Regions from separate parts of the Homo sapiens genome. Here regions 2 and 3 are each linked to region 1. The links are contacts of gene promoters, found by promoter capture Hi-C in human tissues and cell types (Jung and others, 2019). All regions are on one chromosome and are shown on one strand. Each heading gives the region's core, a stretch centred on a gene start or on the middle of the fragment in contact. The rest is flanking DNA. Distances are from core to core; before and after follow the strand shown.

Evidence for each region. Contacts are between HindIII fragments. The study calls those that stand out against the background at their distance.
Region 2: a contact is called between a fragment that was not itself captured here and the fragment with the promoter of SURF4 in region 1, in 1 of the 25 tissues and cell types used here (dorsolateral prefrontal cortex).
Region 3: a contact is called between a fragment that was not itself captured here and the fragment with the promoter of SURF4 in region 1, in 1 of the 25 tissues and cell types used here (bladder).

The regions. Positions count from the first base shown.
Region 1 is chr9:133,374,810-133,378,310 of GRCh38, forward strand. It overlaps SURF4 (surfeit 4), which reads right to left and starts at 1,251. Exons shown (of 6, transcript NM_033161.4): 1 at 1,113-1,251. The coding sequence starts at 1,160. STKLD1 (serine/threonine kinase like domain containing 1) reads left to right here and starts at 1,557. Exons shown (of 18, transcript NM_153710.5): 1 at 1,557-1,751. The coding sequence starts at 1,665. RefSeq lists silencers at 676-955, 966-1,205, 1,296-1,795. The HindIII fragment of the contact is 3,873 bases long and covers 1-2,903 here.
Region 2 is chr9:134,039,579-134,043,079 of GRCh38, forward strand. It overlaps BRD3 (bromodomain containing 3), which reads right to left. Exons shown (of 12, transcript NM_007371.4): 8 at 2,182-2,373; 9 at 456-691. Among named protein-coding and RNA genes, the nearest start is that of BRD3OS, 16 kb to the left of the region's middle. The HindIII fragment of the contact is 7,257 bases long and covers 1-3,501 here.
Region 3 is chr9:133,996,228-133,999,728 of GRCh38, forward strand. No RefSeq gene overlaps it. Among named protein-coding and RNA genes, the nearest start is that of VAV2, 5.7 kb to the left of the region's middle. The HindIII fragment of the contact is 5,321 bases long and covers 1-3,501 here.

The sequences.
Region 1 (3,501 bases), core at 1-2,500:
TTTTTTAAACCACACATATACAAGCCTTCCGATAAGTCTAGGCCTCAGAGTTTGATGACTCACTACCACCTCCAGAAAAATTTAAAAATTTAACCATCACTACTTAAAACTCTAGCAAAGCCACACGAACACATTAAGTAAACCGAGGAAAAAACGGCAAGTGGGCCACACAAGGCTCTCCCTGCGGGGATAAGGCTGTTAATTTGTCGACATAACGGGATTCTTTTAGAAGTAAAAGGCATAAATCTGCGTAACCACCACCACCTTTTGTTTTTGTTTTTTTGTTCTGTCAAGCTTAATCAAGAAAGAGGGAAGGGAGTTGTGTCCCTTCACTTTGTAGGATCGGATCCTGTCCACCCAGTTCCCGAATGCTCTCAACAGTTACCCAACCGCCTGTTTCAAAGGCTTCCCTGTTGCTCAGAATGCCACCTGGACACTTCTGGAAGGAGACTATCAGGGAGATAGGCTTCCCCTCCTCCCAGGCTGTGTACAGGTCCCCACTCAATCCAGCCCAGGGCAGAGTCCAAACGGGGAGGGAGACGCAGACAGGGTCAAAGGGACCCCAAGAGTCCAGCACATCTGGGAAAGAGAAAAGGAAAAGGTGCTGTGGCTTCCTGTAGCTGGGGCGCACGCCAGCGCGCCCCCTTTCCTCTGGGAGGACCCCCGGCCCCCGTTCGTCCCCGAGCTCCCAGCCCGCCTCCGGGAGCCCCAGTGAGAGGAAAAACGTGCGGGGACCCCCCAGCAGCTCCAAACGCCGAGGCGCTCCCCGCGAGCCTCAGACCCGACCCAACGCCAGGACTCGCGCCGCCGGCCCGGGAAGAAACCCCCACAGCCCGCGCCCCGGGCTGGCTGGAGGGTGGGGGCGGCTAGCCAGGCAGGGCGCCGAGGCCCGGGCTCCGGGAGCGGCCCAGCGGGCAGGGGAGACTGGGCCCGGAGGCCGGGTTTGGGGCTGTCCAGCCGGGACAGAGGGCCCGGGCGGGGGGGTCCCCCTGTGGGAACAAGGAGTCAGGGGGCGGCCCGGGCCTGGCGCCCTGCGCTGGGAGGCCGACTCCGGAGCGGCCCGGGCGGCCTGGGTCGGGACCGGGGCCGGGGGAGGAGCCCGCAGGCCGCACCTGGTCGGCGAAGTCCTCGGCCGTGCCCATCAGGTCGTTCTGGCCCATGGCGACGGCGGGAGGCTCGGCTCGGCTCGCTCGCTCGCTCGCTGGCTCTCGCCCGTCGGCGCCCGCACCCGCTGCGGCCTCCACAGGAAGTGCCCGGCGGCCGGCCTCGCTCCGCGTCGGCTGCGGCTCCAGCGGCTGCCACGTAGGCCAAGCCTTAAAGGGGCCGCGCGCCGCCCGGGCCCGCCCCGGTGCGTCTTAAAGGGGCCACGCGCCATCCCCAGCCTCCCGACCCATCCGCTCGAAGCCACGCCCGCCGCGCTCGACGCCACGCCTCTCACGCTGGAGGCCCCGCCCGCCGCGCGCAGGCCCTGCGGTCCCTCCCGGCCCGGCGGAACGCGTCCCTTTTAAGGGGGCGGGGACCTGGGGGTCTGGGGCCAGCGCGCGGGAGGGACGCCTGAGTGCCTCGAGGGCGCCGTTCGGGCGGGGAGGATCCCGCGGGTCCCACTGACCCACGCGGGGTGGGGCCAGGGGTGGACGCTCGCCCGTACGCGGTCGCTACTGATCATGCTTGGGCCAGGGTCCAATCGCAGGCGCCCCACGCAGGGGGAGCGAGGCCCAGGGTCCCCCGGAGAGCCCATGGAGAAGTACCAGGTGCCGAGTGTTCCCTGCGGGGAGGCGGGAGCTCCGTGGGGTAACGGTCGCAACCCTGGAGCTACGGCCGGCGGTTCCGACCGAGGGCGGCGAGGGGCCCGCGCCCTGGCCAGTGTCGGCCTGCAGCTCCTAGGTTGAACCCGGGGGGCCTCCAACGGTGACCTCCTGGGTGCCCTTTGCCACTCAGTTTCCCCCTTTGTGAATTGACTAAGGATTCTCCAGCCCTGGCTGAGTATTTGAGGGCGTGGGGCAGCTCCTCTATCCTTCGTGCCTGGGGTCTGTGCGCTTGGGTCCACCGAGGCAGGACCCCCGGGAACATCCCGAGTACATAATTGGGAGCCCCCAGTCCCCTAAAAACACCCCTGCAGCGTGGGTCTGTGAAAATGTTTGAGACCTAAAAAATTCACAAAACACAAAAGGAAAGCTGCAAAATAAAAGTAAATGTTTAATTAAATGCTTCTATACATGATATATACACTTTATTAAATGTTAGATTCAGCATTTGTGAAAAATGCATTCGCTTGGAAACAGTTTGCGGGTTAGATTTTTGTCACTTTGGAAGAATTGTCTTTGTGTGAGAGGACTATAGGGCGTTGCCAGAGGTGAAGCAGATGAGCTTCTGGTGGCCAGATAATTTTTAAAGTAAAGTTGTTTTTCAGATTAAAAAAAAATAGACGTTTCAGGAATATACCTGCTTTTGGAAAAAAAAATAGACTTGATTCGAGATACGGCTCCATTTTACTGTTTAATTTGCTGCCTAAGCTTGAACGCTCTCACACCAGCTCTGCCCTCAGCCCGCTGTGGCTTAGAACAGCAGTCCCTGGCCGGGCTCGGTGGCTCACGCCTGTAATCCCCAACACTTTGGGAGGCCAAGGCGGGCGGATCACCTGAGATCGGGAGTTCAAGACCAGCCTGACCAACATGGAGAAACTGTCTCTACTAAAAATACAAAATTAGCCAGGTGTGGTGGCGCATGCCTGTAATCACAGCTACTCGGGAGGCTGAGGCTGGAGAATCGCTTGAACCCAGGAGGCAGAGGTTGTGGTGAGCCAAGATAGCGCCATTGGACTCCAGCCTGGGCAACAAGAGCAAAACTCTGTCTCAGAAAGAAAAAAAAAAATAGCAGTCCCCAACCTTTTTGGCACAAGGGACCAGTTTTGTGGAAGACAATTTTTCCACAGATGGAGGCGGGAGGATGGTTTTGGGATGATTCAAGCACATTACACTTAGTGTGCAGTTCATTTCTATTATTATGTTGTAATACATAATGAAATAATTACACAACTCACCATAATGTAGAATCAGTGGGAGCCCTGAGCTTGTTTTCTTGCAACTAGACCATCCTCTCGGGATGATGGGAGACAGTGACGGATCATCAGGCATTTGTTTCTCATAAGGAGCATGCAACCTGGATCCCTCACATGCACTGTTCACAATAGGGTTCACACTCCCATGAGAATCTAATGCTGCTGCTGAGCTGACAGGAGGTGGAGCTTGGGTGGTAATGCGAGCCATGGGGAGCGGCTGTAAATACAGATGAAGCTTTGCTCCACTGCCTGCTGCTCACCTCCTGCTGTGCAGCCTGGTTCCTAACAGGCCACGGACTAGGTTGGGGACCCCTGGCTTAGAATATCCAGTGTCATGAGCAGGCTGCTCACAAGGCTGGATTACAGACTCCTAAGACTTTTATGGGCTCCGAGAGTCCCTAGGCTCAGGCTTCCATCCTCATATCTCCTCCTCTGGGTCCTGC
Region 2 (3,501 bases), core at 752-3,251, 670 kb after region 1:
TTGTGGCTCCTGCATGTCCCTAGCAGACGCTCCTCAGGGTGGTGCCCAGCCACAGCAGGGGCTCCCGAAGGAGGCTGAATGCAGCTGTGCACGATTCCACCATCCCTGCCCCCTGCCTATGGGCAAGTCCAAAACGGGGCGTTCAACTCCCCCTAGTCAAGATCCTTGGCCCAGACCAGAGAAACATCCCAAAAGCTTCATGATGTGGAGACCAGGCCGTGCCAGCGCTTCAATGCCCAGAATCCAGGCCAGCCCCGCAGACAACTGAGCAGCATCACCTGGGCCCCCGGACTTCCCAGCACAGGTCTCATCAGGCCCTCTGTCTCCCTGCCCCCATCACCCTGGTTTCCAGGTGGCCAAGGCACAAAGCCCCCAATCCCAGCACTGCTGCTACATGAGCCCCCATGGCGTGCTGAGCGCTGGGCTCTTGGAGCCCGAGCAGGTCTGGAGCCCACCTGCCGGCCGTGGTCGTGCTGTTGGCCTTCTTGGCAGGAGCCTTCTTCTGCTGAGCCTGCTTGGCAGGCGGAGCCACCTTGGCCTTCTTCTCTTCCTCGGCCTTCACTTTGTGCTTCTCCTTCTCCTTCTCCTTGTCCTTCTTCTTCTTCTCCTTCTCCTTCTTCTCCTTCTTCTTCTTTGGTTTGTTTACTGGGGCCTGAGACAGGGCGGCCAGCTGCTCGTGCACGGCCTTCAGCTGGAAAAGAGCGGGCGGCTGAGCAGGTGCTGGGCACGGCCCACACCACTGGGGCTGCGTGGCGCCCTGGGATTGGAGGGGGCTTGGGGCGATGTCGGAGCTGCCTCAGCTGGGTGAGGAGGTGAACCAGGAGCACCTGGGCCCTGCTCTGCCCCTCACTCCCGTGACCCCCAGTGAGTCATGAGCCCTCTCCGCCTCGGCTTCTTCGCCTGCAGTGGGGAAGAGCTGCCTGGCCACAGGCTCAGCACTGCGCGGGTGGCACAACAGGGACTCGGTGAGGGCAGCTAACTTTTTAAAAAAAATGTATTATACTTTAAGTTCGGGGATACATGTGCAGAATGTGCAGGTTTGTTACATAGGTATACATGTGCCACGGTAGTTTGCTGCACCCATCAACCCGTCATCTACATTAGGTGGGCAGCTAACATTTTTATTATTACCATTGTTCAGATAAGGAAGGACTCTCTAGAAGTTTAAATGCCCACACAAAGGAGATTTTCATCAGTGATTTCTGGGAAGCCATTTGATAACACGCAGGACTCCGGGGTTAAAACAATCCACTGCCAGCAACCAGCATTAATCCAGGGCCTCCCTGCAGCTGGCATTGTGCCAAGCGCCTCGCCCTCCCCACTGCAGCCACCTCCATGGGAGAGGCCCCTTGAGAGGCACTGCCCATGTGAGTCCACGGCCTGTCCCTGCCTCTGGGTGGTCTGTGCAAGGAAGACAGAGGGCGGGTGGAGGAGCTGCCACCTCACAGCCGTCTTCCCTGCTGTGTGTCCTTGCCACTTCAAAATCAAATGTCCAGCCCAACTCTGGGGACTGCAGGGCCATCGCTGTCCTTGCAGCCCTGATTCATGCTGTTCCCCTCCTGACTCGACAGCCCTGCTCTATTTTCTCCCAATCTGGGGTCCCAGAAATCATGCATCTGGCTGGCTGCCAGAGGTCTGGGGAAACAATTCACATCTTTCTCAATCTGACCTCAAGACAGCTCAGAGTGGGTGACATTTGTCCCATACTGCAAACGAGGAAAGCAGAGAAGGGGGAGGAAGCACAGCCTGGCAGCGGGACTGGGGCTGGGCAGCTGCACGGCAGGGCCCTCAGGACCCTGGAGCCTGCACCCCACCCCACTGCAAGTGACTGCTTGGAGCCCAGGCACTACTGTGGCCTCTGCAAGTGCCTCACAGGCCTTTCTGGAGCAGAGCAAGGCACACATAACCACACATGACCCCTGAGCTCCCACCTGAGGCCCGCCAGGTCTCCAGAAACATCCCAGCCACGTGTCCCCGCAGCCACCCACGTGTGCTGTGGGTTAGGCTCGCACCACCCCAGACCTGGGGAGGGCACTCCGAGTGTCTTTACGGGGAAGCACTACCGCGGCTGCTGAGGGACAGGGGCAGAGGAAGGAACCATGCAAAGGGACGGACCTTGGGCTGCTGTGCCAGCAATCCCGCCTCAGCCCCTGAACCCCACCCAAGCATGCCAGTGCCCACCTGCTCCTGCAGCTCCGCCAGCCTGGTGGCCCGCTCCTCCTCCGAGTCCGAGCTGCCTGAGTCCGAAGAGCTCTCCTCACTGCTACGGCTGCTCTCAGCGCCCTTGCTCACCATGGGGGCCGCGGGGGCAGGCAGCGCCGGTGCCTCCACGGGCTCATCTGGCATCTTGGCAAACCTCATCTCAAACACGTCCTGCGGCAGAACAGAGGCTGCCCTGAAGACATGGGTGCCCATGGGGCTGCCCCTTGGTGTGGGCCCTCAGGGTTTCTGAGGTGCCCCTGAGGCAGCACCCACAGCTGTTACGAAGGTGGGGCTAGGAGGAGACAGGGTCCCGCCTGCCTGGGGGGCTGTGGTTGCTTCCAGCTTGCCCACCCTCCCTCCCCAGGCAATTCCTGCGGACAGGCCTGGGAAGAGGGGACACAGGAGCTGGCCCACAGCTCCCTTCAGCAACTCCATGAGCCCTCTCTAGAAGATGCATGCATCCTTGTAGCCTCCTGGCCCAAAGCTCCCTGGGGCTGCCTCTGCTGTGAAACGGGAAACAGTGTCTTCCCTTGAGCTTGGACAGGGTCCTCCACAGCCACAGGAGTCCAAGAGTGTTGACCTCTTCCCATCTCTTCACCCCGGAACTGACTGCAGCATCACATCTCATGAACGGTGAACTCCAAAAGTTGGCTTAAAAGGCCAAAGTCTAGTCCTATCCATACTTTATTTACAAAAAAATATAAAAATTAGCCAGTCATGGCAGCACATGTCTGTGATCCTAGCTGCTCGGGAGGCTGCGATGGGTGGATTGCTTGAACCCAGGAGGTCGAGGCTGCAGTGAGCCGAAATCATGCCACTGCACTCCAGCCTGGGTGACAGAGTGAGACCCTGCCTCAAATATATATACACACACACACACACACACACACATATATATACACACACACACATATACACACACATATATATACACATATATACACATATATATACACACATATATACACATATATACACATATATACACACACACATATATATACACAAATATACACACACACACACACACACACACACATTTTTAAGTTTTACTTTTACTAATTTTCTTTTTCTCTCAAGACAGAGTCTTGCTCTTTTGCCCAGGCTGGAGTGCAATGGCATGATCTCAGCTCACTGCATCCTCCACATCCTGATTTCAAGTGATTCTCCTGCCTCAGCCTCCTGAGTAGCTGGGATCACAGGCATGCGCCACTACTCCCGGCTAACTTTTTGTATTTTTAGTAGAGCCGAAGTTTCACCATGTTGGCCAGGCTGTTCTTGAACTCCTGACCTCGTGAT
Region 3 (3,501 bases), core at 598-3,097, 620 kb after region 1:
TTAACACTATCGCTATGTGAATTAACGTTACACTACGTAAGATTGCAGTTACGTCGCACATTGTCACTTTCAAGCCGTTATATTTTAACAGCATTCATAGTTGCAGTAACCAATCCTGTGTCTTGAGTCTGAGTGGCCGGCCTAGGTGATGGTCACCTCCTTTAAACCACAAGCCACTCCATCACTTCTAGTCACTGTTATTGTACTGAGTGGTCCAACATAAAAACCAGCTCACCAAGCACATTGGTGAGCTGCCCAAGGTCACCCAGCAACACAGGAAAAAGCCAAGTCCAAACGCCAGGCCTTATTGACACCTGTGTGCACCCCTAAATAGAGGCTGCTGCTGAAAGGGCTTTCCACGCCTAGAACTTTCTGCTTTCCCTTAATGCACTGATGTGGGTGGGGAGGTGACGAGGGAGGGAAAATGATCTGATGTCTAGAACACGTGGATACGGAGTCAGCAACAGAGCGCAGTGCCTGGAGCCCACAGGCACACCCCCCCGCCCCGCCACTGTGGTACCGAAATGAGCCCTTAGTACAGGCAGGAGTAGCAAGGCTAAGAAACGGGAGCCGAAGGGTCCGACACTGACTTAAAGGAGGGAAGGGCAGCTGGAAGTATATCCACGCATCCTGGAGGTCCTGGAAACCTGGTGACTCTTGGATCCTCGGGGTCCCAGAGAGGAGACCTTTGGAGGAAGGAGTGGGTAGACAGGTGGCTGCCCTTATGTGGGCAGCATGGCTGGGCTTCCCCTCTGGCTTCTCTGCCCAGTCACTCACACCACGAGTGATGCTCCACCTACAACTCAGCACGTCCTTCCTGCACCCAGGCCCTGAGCCAGGACCACCCACACCCTAGGAGGCGAGGACTGTCATCGTACTGTGCTACAGATGAGGTCGGCTCACATAGCTTGAGTGACTTGGCCAAGGTTATGCAACTGGCAGAGTTCAGATTCGAACTCAGGTCCACCTTCTCCTATGCCTCCAGCTGAGAGGTTTGCTTTTGTTTTCTACTGATAAATAATGATTTCAAGGGCAGTGGCACAGGACAATCTGAGTCCACGACCGGCCCAGCGCCCCTCCCCTGGGTTTCTGCAGAGCTGCCCTCATCAAATTGGTGTCCTCATTCTCTGGGCAGCCCCAGGGTCTGGTTTCTGAACAGGAATACATGTGTCCCTTAGCGCGTTACATGCCACAGTGGAAGGGCTTGAGAGTTTACCTCTCACTCAAGACTGTTTCTTTCCATACAGGCCCTCCCAGAGAACCTCCATACAGCCAGAGTGGGCACTGTCTCAGTCCAGTATTCCCCCAAAAAACACCAAGACCTGCTGCAAGGTCTCAGTACTTTTCATCAAAAGGTCCAAGGCTCAGGGGACCCTCATTCCACAGCCAGCATCCCAGGGATAGACTGAAGCTTCTTCAAAGGAGCTCCGCCCAAGGCTGGAGTCTGTCCATCATCCCTCCACCTGCCCCTCCATCCATCCCTCCTATATCTTGCTACCCACTCTTCCATCCATCCGTCTCTCAACCCATCCTTCCATCCATGCCACATTCCTCCACTCATCCCTCCATCCATCCCTCCTTCCATCCATCCCTCCCACATTCCTCCACCCATCCCTCCATCCATCCCTCTCACATTCCTCCACCCATCCCACATCCCTCCACCCATCCCTCCCTCCATCCATCCCACATCCCTCCACCCATCCCTCCCTCCATCCATCCCTCCCTCCATCCCTCCATCCATCCCTCCCTCCATCCATCTCTCCCTCCATCCATCCCACATCCCTCCACCCATCCCTCCACCCATCCCTCCACCCATCCCTCCACCCATCCCTCCTTCCATCCATCCCTCCATCCATCCATCTCTCCCTCCATCCATCCCACATCCCTCCACCCATCCCTCCTTCCAACCATCCCACATCCCTCCAGCCATCCCTCCACTCATCCCTCCCTCTACCCATCCCACATCCCTCCACCCATCCCACATCCCTCCACCCATCCCTCCACCCATCCCTCCACCTATCCCTCCACTCATCGCTCCACCCATCCCGCCGTCCTTCCCTCCATTCACCCCTCCATCCATCCCTCCCACATTCCTCCACCCATCCCTCCCTCTATCCATCCCTCCACCCATCCTGGAATCCACTCTTCCACCCATCCCTCCTACATCCTTCCATCCTTCCCCATCTATCCCTCAACCCATCCTTCCATCCATTCTTCCACCCATCCCTCCCTCCATCCATCCCTCTACCCATCCTTCCACCTATCCCTCCATCCTTCCACCAATCCATTCCTCCACTGTTCCCTCCATCTATCCCTCCGTCCACCCATCCCTCCACCCATCCTTCCACCTATCCCTCCATCCTTCCACCAATCCATTCCTCCACTGTTCCCTCCATCTATCCCTCCGTCCACCCATCCCTCCACCCATCCTTCCACCTATCCCTCCATCCTTCCACCAATCCATTCCTCCACTGTTCCCTCCATCTATCCCTCCGTCCACCCATCCCTCCACCCATCCTTCCACCTATCCCTCCATCCTTCCACCAATCCATTCCTCCACTGTTCCCTCCATCTATCCCTCCGTCCACCCATCCCTCCACCCATCCTTCCACCTATCCCTCCATCCTTCCACCAATCCATTCCTCCACTGTTCCCTCCATCTATCCCTCCGTCCACCCATCCCTCCACCCATCCTTCCATTCATTCTTCCACTCACCCCTCCTATGTCCCTCCCTCCTTCTCCCATCCCTCAACCCATCCCTTCACCCATTACTCCCCCATCCATCCCTCAACCCACCCCCACATTCATCCCTCCCTCCATCTATCCCTCCACCCATTCTTCCGCCCATCCATTCCTCCACCCATCTCTCCATCCATCCACCTATCCCTCCATCCATCCACCCATCCCTCCATCCATCCACCCATCCATCTCTCTATTCATCTCTCCATCCATTAAATTCATCTCTCCACCCCTCCCCCACCCATCCCTCCATTCATCCCTGTATTCATCCCTCTGTGTATCCCTCACATCCCTCCACCCATCCTCCATCCTCCACATAGAAAATACTGACTGAGCACTGGCTTTGTTCATGAGGAAGGGCAAGTGAATGTTTTGACTCTTCCCAACATGATGGGATAAAGGAATTATTCTCATGTCCAAACCACATGAACACACACATTGTGCAAATTCCATTTGTAGCTACATCATGCAAATTCAGCTGTCACAATTTCCTGGGAAATTATAGGTGTAGAAAAAGACCATCTGGCCCACCATGCAGTCAGAGTATGCCTGACTGAATTATTGGGTGGGGGCTTTTACATTTTGTTTGAAAGGGCAAAATATAGATTTTTTACTTCTTGTTCAACTTTCAAAATTAAATCAAATGCCATAATCCATGGATCGTACCCTAAACTGAAATCTCTGAAATCTCACTGCCAAGTGGCCATTGTTTGGACACCTTCCAGTGACTATTTAGGAGACCGGGGCAGTTTTCTGTGAGC